3 separate regions of the Homo sapiens genome follow, and all the other regions are linked to region 1. The links are contacts of gene promoters, found by promoter capture Hi-C in human tissues and cell types (Jung and others, 2019). All regions are on one chromosome and are shown on one strand. The core of a region is centred on a gene start or on the middle of the fragment in contact, and the rest is flanking DNA. Distances in the headings are between cores, read along the strand shown.

Evidence for each region. Contacts are between HindIII fragments. The study calls those that stand out against the background at their distance.
Region 2: a contact is called between a fragment that was not itself captured here and the fragment with the promoter of DOK7 in region 1, in 2 of the 25 tissues and cell types used here (lymphoblastoid cells and thymus).
Region 3: a fragment that was not itself captured here is called in contact with the fragment with the promoter of DOK7 in region 1 in 4 of the 25 tissues and cell types used here (bladder, dorsolateral prefrontal cortex, lymphoblastoid cells and 1 more).

The regions. Positions count from the first base shown.
Region 1 is chr4:3,461,965-3,464,907 of GRCh38, reverse strand. It overlaps DOK7 (docking protein 7), which reads right to left and starts at 1,602. Exons shown (of 7, transcript NM_173660.5): 1 at 1,479-1,602; 2 at 1,357-1,402. The coding sequence starts at 1,532. RefSeq lists an enhancer at 1,977-2,824. The HindIII fragment of the contact is 11,592 bases long and covers 1-2,943 here.
Region 2 is chr4:3,367,244-3,370,339 of GRCh38, reverse strand. All of the region lies in intron 3 of RGS12 (regulator of G protein signaling 12), which reads right to left. Among named protein-coding and RNA genes, the nearest start is that of HGFAC, 73 kb to the left of the region's middle. The HindIII fragment of the contact is 3,568 bases long and covers 1-3,096 here.
Region 3 is chr4:3,349,612-3,352,720 of GRCh38, reverse strand. All of the region lies in intron 3 of RGS12 (regulator of G protein signaling 12), which reads right to left. Among named protein-coding and RNA genes, the nearest start is that of RGS12, 58 kb to the right of the region's middle. The HindIII fragment of the contact is 4,811 bases long and covers 1-3,109 here.

The DNA of each region.
Region 1 (2,943 bases), core at 353-2,852:
CACAGATTGTCCCACCTGGGGGACCCATTGCAAACTCCTGTCACTCCACTCAGGCACTCACCGGCCGGGGGAGCACACCCTCTTGAGGCTGGCAGGCCCTGCCTCCTGGGACTGTCTGATGCAGAAAGAAAATCCCTCCAACAGGGACAAAGACTTCTCCCCCGACACTCCTCTTTGGGGGCTGCTGTCCCGGGTGCCTTCCTGGGATGCGGCCTCTCTGGAGGGTCTGCACCGGCTCCAGCCCAGCACCATCCACCAAGCATCACCTGCCCCACCACGGCCCCGACCCAGCCACAGCTGACTAAAGCCTGTCATCCGCCCCAGCCTGGCAGGGCCTCTCACTCTGCCCAGACCCCATCCCTTCCTATACCAGGTCCCCTGCAGCCCCGGAGGACAAAGACGCCCTCCCAGGCTCTGTCGGTGCCCCCACAGCTCCAGGCAGGAGGTCTGGGCACGGAGGGCTGAGTGGAGAAGTGACCAGCGTGCAGTCCAGGCCCTGCAAGGGGAGGCGGAGGCAGGCAGGAAGTGCTTTCCTCCAGGACCACCTGAGGCCCTGCAGAGGGGACGCAGGAGGGATCCCTGCCCCACACCCTCCCTGGGAGTCACAGACACCCGTCCTGGAGGGTGCTCTGGCAGCCCCCTGGCGTACAGCCCCCCATGCACACAGGCCGAGCATCCCACCCAGACCCGGGCCTGGCCGGCTCTGCCGCACCTGTCCTCTGGAGCAGCTGCAGGCCCGGCTCAGCCCTCCCTACAGGCCCAGCGCTGCAGGCGGCCTGGGCTGCCAGACCTGGGGGCTCCATGCTGACCCTCCCCAAGCTGGGGTGCTGGCTCAGGGCGGGGACTGGGGGGGGACCCCTGCCTCCTCCCAGAGGACTGTTCCCCCAGCAATGTGGCAGTCACTCTGCCCTGCCCTACCGCAGCCCAGCCTCTCGTCTGCCTGGGAGGGGTCCAGGGTCAGCGCTAACCCACGCAGCACCCCTGGAGGCTGGGTTCGGGGGCCCTGCTCTGAGCGTTTCCACAAGCACAGCTCAACCCTCAGGTATGTGGGGCTTTGCTTCTGGGGGGCCCCTTGCTGCTCTGCTGGGGGGCTCAGGGCCTGCGTCCCCTCCGCCTACAGGGCCACCAGGCAGCCCCTCGGGCCTCAGTCTGCCCTGCTGGAAAGAGGGTTCTTCCGTCCAGGGCCCCCACCTGCGCTCCCAGGGGCGCCGGGGGGTCCGGGTCCGCACGGGGCTCTCGGGTTTCCCGGCGGGGTGACAGCGGCGGCGATTTTGGGCAAGCTGGCATTACTGCCCCGGGCCTCGGTAACCCGTGTCGCTACCCCCGCGCCCCCCGTCCCCCGCCCGCCCCGCTCACCTGCCACGGGCGACGGCTTCCGCAGCACCAGCCACCTACTCTTCCACTGCGGGGACAGGGGGGAGCGTGAGCCGCCGCCCGCGCCCGCGCCCCCCCCCCCCGCGCCCCCGACGCGCCCCGACCTTCTTGCCGTCCCGCAGCTTGACCTGGCCCTCCACCAGCGCCGCCTCGGTCATCTTCTGTCATGGTTCCGCGCCGCCGCGCTCGCCCCGGCGCCCCAGCCCAGGGTCACTTTCAAAATAGCTCGCAGGGCCCTGGGCTGGGCCAGGAGGGCGGGCCCGCGGGCAGGGCGGCGACACCGGCGACTCCAGGGCCGGCGCGGGCGGGGCTCCTTCTCCTGCGGGCGGCTCCCCCACCCCCACGGGCCCCTCTGGCCCCACCGTCCCGCGGCGGCCACTGGAGCCGCCCGCCCTCTGGAGCAAGCGCACCATCTGGGCTCAGACGCTCAGACCAGCGCCTGGCGGGGCGGGGGTCGGGCGGGGACTTCTTTTTCAAAAAGCAGAGACAACCACCTAGCAGACATCGGCCCCGCTCTGGGCACTGCTCCCAACTTTAAAGTTGGTCTTCAAACAATCCGGCTTCCCAGACTGGCATCTGCCCCTACCCCAGGGGTCACTAGACACCCGGACAACAGACTGGCCACAGGCAGCCCAGGCCTAGGATGCTCTCACATCCCCAGGCTTCCCCCACACTGAGGTGACCCCTCCCCAGGCAGGCAGTAGGGGTCGGGGAGCCCCTGGCAGCCTCTGTCTCTTCCTCCATTTCTGTTCCCATTAAAAGCCTGCAGGGACCCCAGTGCAGGTGGGCGGGTCCAGGACCCACAGTGCCGCCTCAGGGCCCCAGGTCTCCACCTCTTCTGCCCCCATCCCAGGCAAGAGCAGGCCCTGGTTAGGCCAGCCGGCTCCGATGGGCAGAGGAGCTGCCTGCTTTGTAAAGGACCTGCCAGCAGCCCTCCCAGCTGGGTGGACTTTGCGCTTCTGGACTCCCCCTCCTTGACCCTGTGGCTCCAGTCCAGCTGTCCCCAAGCTCTGGCCTGGGCATTAGATGTCACATCCAGGTTCTTCTGCAGAGAGGCCATGTGCTTTGGGGGACCTGGCAGGTCCGTGCCTTGGGTGTCAGCCCCATCCGAGAGACGGCCTCCACCACCCTGGGGTTGGGGACACCCAGCAGATACGGGAACAGCAGTGGGGAGGGGCGATGGCACCCTAGAAGATAAGCACCTGGACAAACAGCAAAGCTCCGTCCACATGCCCTACCCTAGACCCCATCCTCACGGGGCTGACGGTTCTCGGGGGAGAAGAAGGAAGGGGTAGACAGTGTCCCGTTAGGGAGGAGACGTCTTCATTTCATCCCATCCAGACCCTAGGCTGGGCTCTGTCTGCCTCGCACTGAGGAGCAAATGGAATCAGGGCAGCGTGAGGCCTCACAGCCAGGACTGAGCCACATCGGCTGACCTCAGAGCAGGGCTCAGAGGCATCGGGAGCCCTGGGCGCCCCTCCCCACTGCCCCTGTGATCCAAGAGACAGGTCTCCGGTGGGCCACAAGGGTTGGCTTTGGTGCTTCGGTGATGTCTTGTCAGGGCCTCAT
Region 2 (3,096 bases), core at 245-2,744, 94 kb after region 1:
AAAGCCGGAACTACTTACCTGCTGGTCATTAGAAACATGGGTTTCGTTTGACAACTCTTTCCCCAAATTCATTGTAAGGCACCGAGCCACACTAGGCACCCGGGTCTAAGACACACCATTCAACACCGCAGCTTGTGCGTGTGAGAAAAGTTTAAAGGCATTTCCGATGAAGTTCCCTCTCGCTCCCTTCGTAACCCATGGCAACAGGACACTGCAGGAAGCTGTGGCTTGCCAGGGTTTCAGACTCTATCTCAATTGTCTCATCCAAAGAAAGAAGCGCCGTTTACATAAATCACGCTGTGAGATCATTTTTAAACTATTTCCTCTACCAAATCAGAAGAATAAAACTTCGGCCGACAGGGGTAATTTCTCAGTCAGTAAAACAGCTGCAGAGAATTTGTTTTTTTTAGCATCGTGGTGCAGTTCACAACCTTAATTACAGCTGCCAATGAATCTATTCTAAGCCTCCACATGCACCAGCTTACTGGGTGGCAGCCAGCGGGATCTGGCACACGCCTAAAGCCCTCTCAGTGCTATCTGTATTCCGTGATCTGCTCTGCCCACCCTCCAAATATATGAAACAACCAGAAAGCGAGTGAACCATGATGGATCCTGGCTCTAAAAAGGAAGGAGGAAAGAAAAAGAAAACTATTTGTAAAGCCTAGGGATCACTGCAAAATCATCTGTTAATTTTCTAGAGATTTAGGGGTAAACTGCTCATCCCAAAGTGCTTCCCTGCTGTCAAAATCATGCAGCATGGGCCACCTAGAGTCTCGTCCTAATGGGCTCTAGGAGTCCTAACCCTGAAACGTTAGGTTGAGGGAAGCTTCGCCATTAGACCTGGGGAAGCTTCTTGCCAGGAACTGCAAACTCAATGCCCACAGGGCCACCAGGCTAGGTCCATGGCTCTGGGGTCTGGGGTTGGGCTGCCAGCTGGGAAGGAACTGTGCCAGCTCTGCTTCTGCCTTTCTGTGGAGGAACATGAGCATTCCCCGCACGAGAGTGTTCAGTGAGCAGAACCCACAGCACTGGACACACACTTCGTTTCAGAAATGCACAATGGCTGCTTGCAGAATGCGCAGCAGCTCAAGCTTCCTTAGAAGGCTTTTCTCAGGAGCTGTGCACGTAACAAAAGTGTGGGGGAGTCTGCAGGGGCGGGGGGCAGGCGCCCAGCCACACCCCCAGCAAGCAGAGGAATCACCCCAAGGCAGCCACACCTCCCTCTGCACAGCTGCTCCTCGCTGAAAGGGGTGCCACCTCCACTTCTGTCACCAGCCCAGGAAGGGGCTCCCGCCCAAGCTACCGGGACCCCCGGTCAGCCCCATAGGTCTGGAGTGGCCTCAGAAGCCCTGTTCCTCGACAGGGCCCCGCCTCTACCTACCATGGCCCCACCCACTTCCCCTGGGCTCTGGGCCAGAGGGTCTACATTAGGTACGACAGGCATGGCAGGCAGTATGACAGAAGGCGGAGCACGTATAGACCAGACCACATCACCATTCCTGGGCTAAGCCACATCTCTCAGACAAAACCAGCATCCTCGTCCCCTGCCTTCCCGTCAGCATCCACCCCACCACACACACACAGGCACCCCCCAACACACACAGGCACCCCCCAACACACACAGGCACCCCCAACACACACAGGCACCCCCACACACACAGGCACCCCCCCTACACACACATGCACCCCACACACGTACCACACACACACATGTACCCCCCCACACACAGGTACCCACACACACACAGGCACACACACAGGCACCCCACACACACACACATGCACCCCACACACGTACCCCACACACACACGTACCCCACACACACACAGGCACCCACACACACACAGGCACCTCACACACAGGCACCCCCACACACAAAGGCACCCCACACACACACAGGCACCCACACACACACAGGCACTCACACACACACAGGCACCCCACACACACAGGCACCCACACACAGGCACGCACACACACAGGTGCACACACACACAGGCACACACACAGGCACACTTTCAGAGAAAGCAATCTGAAGGTTCTGGAACAACAGCAAGGGGTTCTGGGGTGGCTGGGTGAGCCCCTGACGCTGACCTGCCCGTTAACCTCATTGGCTTCTGAGGGGCCTGCACTACTGACAGTTTACAGAGCTTTGGAGGAGACAGTGGTCTCCAGGCGGGAGCAGAGGACAACAGCATCCTGGCCCCCCAGGGCCCCCAGACCCTGGGAACAGCCACCAGCGCCTGAGAACCGAAGGCAGCCTGGGCATGCGTGGGGCCTTCTGCTGAGGGGTTATCACCTAAGTGCTAAACTGATTTCACCTCAGTTCTTTCAGACAGAAACATCTTCATCCCATTGTGTTCCATCGAGGACGGAAAGGAAGAAACACAATTTCACATTGTCTACGTGGTTTATTCGCAAAGCCCACAAAGCAGCCCAGGCTGCTAGGGGTCCGCCTGTTGCTGTCCGGTCACTAACAACAGGGCCTCCAACAACAGGGCCTCCGGGTTCTCCTGTCTCTCTCTAGGCTCCCCCCATCTCCTCTTTTGTGGGAGCCTGTCCTTTTCTGCAGCTGCTGACCTCCCCTGCCTAGCCAGTAACTCCCCTCTGCAGATGGGTGAGGAAAGGGATGGGGCAGGGCCAGAACACGCCTGGGAGAACTCCTGTGACCGCCTGAGGGCCCCAGCAGCAAGTGCCCTGGGGAGACGGGGATGAGCCCCCTGCCACATGGTCAGAGGTCCAGGAGCTGCTGACAGCCACATCCCCAGAAGATTCTGGGCCCCAGCCCATTGCCCCTGCTTCGTGCTCCACCTCCCTTGTTTGGATGGATGTGTTTACTCAGTGCCTGGTGGGAGTCGGGTTCAGACCCCGGGCCCGGGAAGCCCAGCACAGCCCTTCACCAACACATGCATGGCCAGTCTGGGCACAGGAAGAAAGCACCGCAAGGCGGGAGCACCCGATCATGCGCTGCACAGGCACCGCCTCACCAGGACGGGGCGTGAAGAGAAAGTGGGCAGAGTGCTAGCTCGGAAAGGGCGAGCCGTTCTCAGCCCTCCAACGCAGGCCCACCGCGGATCCCAGAGAAGGCGAAGCCC
Region 3 (3,109 bases), core at 522-3,021, 110 kb after region 1:
TTACTTCTGCGAGGACATCTGCCTAGCAACTGCCTGTCCAGCCTCAGAATCATGCCACCCTTGTTATTGATCCTTGTAGCCAAGAAAAATTATCTCAAAACGATTATGTAATCATATTCATTTTTCCATTAGAAACCTTTATCTTCCACTACTTCCCTGAATATGCACATAGTTTACCATAATGTGTATCCCATCGCAATGCCTATTCCTGAATAAATACCATTTTCTTTTGGAGAGTCTCCCTCCCTATTTGTTATTTAGGATGACATAAATGGTGTCAGAAGTGGGATGTGGAGAAGGATCACCTGTGGAAAGAATCATCAATTCTTAGAACTGGTATGAGGCACTCAACTGAGCCCTTTGAGCTCTCTGCTTCCATGACTCGCCTCTTCTGCCCTTGAAAGTCTCCTCTCAAACCAAGCCTCCCATTTTTTGTTAGAAGCTCTTTTTTACTTCATTTGGGATCTGAGTTAATAAAGGACCTTAATAAAGGACCTTGCATCTGTCTCGGATGATAAAAGACCTTTTGTCTCTTCTGGCAAGCCCCTTCTGGTATAAGGACAATGTCCCTCTGGTTACTACAGAATTTATATTCTGTCTGGTTCTGCACACCCGGTTTAATGTTTTGTTTGGACTGCATGCCTGGCTTAAAATTTCTGTGAACACACTTATTTTTTGTTTTATTTTGATTTGCTTACACACATCTGTATATGATTTGGCTCTTTTTTCCCTTGCTTGATTCTGGCCATGATCTGAGAGCAAAAATAAAGATTCTAAATAATGGGTATGGGATGGCCAATTAACAAGGGCAGTCAGCACCACATAAGGCACCAGTCTAAACTCCCTGACAGGAATTATAGGATTTTCTTTGCTCTTGAGAGATTAATAAGAAATGAAATGGGATTCTTAAACATTGAGGCACACCAAGTCTTCTAGGACTCTGGCCAGCTATACTGTGGTCCGTTCTCGTGTGGTGATGGGCAAACTACATCAGGAAAAACGCAGCACTGGACAGCCATTTTCTGTCTAAGCTTGTCAAAAACTGCAACTAACTACAGGGTTAACTCTCCATCTCTTTTTTCTGCCAACTTTGAATCTGATGACTTTTCTGCCAGCATTAAGATAAACTCATTGCTTATGGAAACTAAGATTTTCTTTTAAGTGTTAAAGGGCTTTCAAACTAATGGCTTTATAAATTATGCCAAATCTATGGCAACCAACGATGCAGACACCTTTTGGAAATGTAAATTTAGGTTTGTCTAACAATTGCTTAGGGTGATGAAAAAGCTAATTGAAAAATCGATATTCTAAAAAAAAAACTTTATAAATGTTTATATAAGCTAAGGGCTGTCAGATCAAACAGGTTAAAACCTTAAGCTCAGAGCAATACTAAAAGGTATCTCTGTCTGACATAAAAATTATTTTGTCTGACACTTAAGAGCCAGAAAAAGCAAACAAACAAAAAGATTTGTTACTAATTCAAGGCAACCTGAAAATTTTGTTGTTTTTTTTTAATACAATTTAGCCAGGCCTAGCTAAAATGTAAACATTTGAATATTCAACCCTAAATTCAATTGAATCTGAAAAAAGGATTAAAAGGTTTTTAAAAGTCAAACTGCTATGAAAACTGCTTTATCCATAATTCTGGTCCACAGCCTTCATTAATTACTTATCAGGGTAAACAGAACTTAGCCACAGATAAAAGTTCCGTTTTGTCAAAAATATAATTTGATCCAACTATATTTTATAAACCAGTGAATTTGTATTACTATGTTTTTCTGTTTCATGACCAAAATTCTAAAATGAAAGCCATAAGATCTTTATTTGTGTCTGTATTTGCTTTTATGTATGTTTATACATATTGTATGTTACATCTACATGATAAAATCTGACATAGTTAGCCAGAAATCCCTTAAGAAATTCTATTTGGATTGGCTTAAACAAGCACTCATGTAAAATATATAGTAATTAACCCAAATGCTTTTTAGTTCGTGTGACTTAAATAAATCTTTTTTGTTTTTTTTGTTTTTTGTTTTTTTGAGATAGGTTATTTCTCTGTCACCCAGGCTGGGGTGCAGTGGGACAAACATGGCTCACTGTGGCTTCAACCTCCTGGGCTCCAGTGATCCTTCCACCTCAGCCTCTTGAGTAGCTGGGACTACAGGTGTGTACCATCATACCTGCCTAATTTTTTTATTTTTTGTAGAGATGGGATCTTGCCATGTTGCCCAGGCTGGTCTCAAACTCCTGGGCTCAAGCAATCCTCTTGCCTCAGCCTCCCAAAGTGCTGGGATTATAGGCATGAGCCACCACACCCAGCTGACTTAAGTAAATCTTGGATAAATAAGTTGGTTTTAAATTTGTTGATAAAATAAAAATAGAAGTGTCTTCAAAACTGTCAGCATACATTTTTGCCCAGCTTTACTGGTCAGAGAGGATTATATTTATCTCTACTAGATGTCTTAAGGTTATAAAAGTATAAATCCAGACTAAAGACACAATTATCTTTATTTGTATAACTTTTTAATGACTAAGACTAACACTGTTAGTTTAATCAAAATTGCTGTATCTTCTGTGTTATCAGCAAAATACCCCTATATTTAAGTTTCTCAGGTGAAAACCTGATACTCATAGGCTATACAAATGGTGAAAAGGGAAATAACTTGAAATGAAGACTAGCTTTTTCTATATCTCAGTTTTCATAAGTAACCTAGGTATAATTATTAAAAATAAATAAAGTACATAAACGTAGATGGGAAAGTGCTTATAGACTGTCATGTAATCTGAAATCTTAAAGTTATGCTATGTTAAATTAAATGATACTCATAAAATGTCTAAGTCATTTCCATATAAGATAAAGTACTAAAACATACATTGCTGAACACAAATGTAAGTTTGTTCTTGGCTTATTAAATTTTAGAGAAGGACTAAATATATTTTTGCCTGTTAATACACAAAGTAATTATGTAACGGGAAAACATGTTTCCAAAAATTATAAAATGGTTCTCATCTATAAAATACTGATTCCAAGGTTTTCACTAAAAATTACAGTTACTAAGAGTTAAAGTTCTTACATATATATATTTCAGTATACAAAGTATACGAAAAG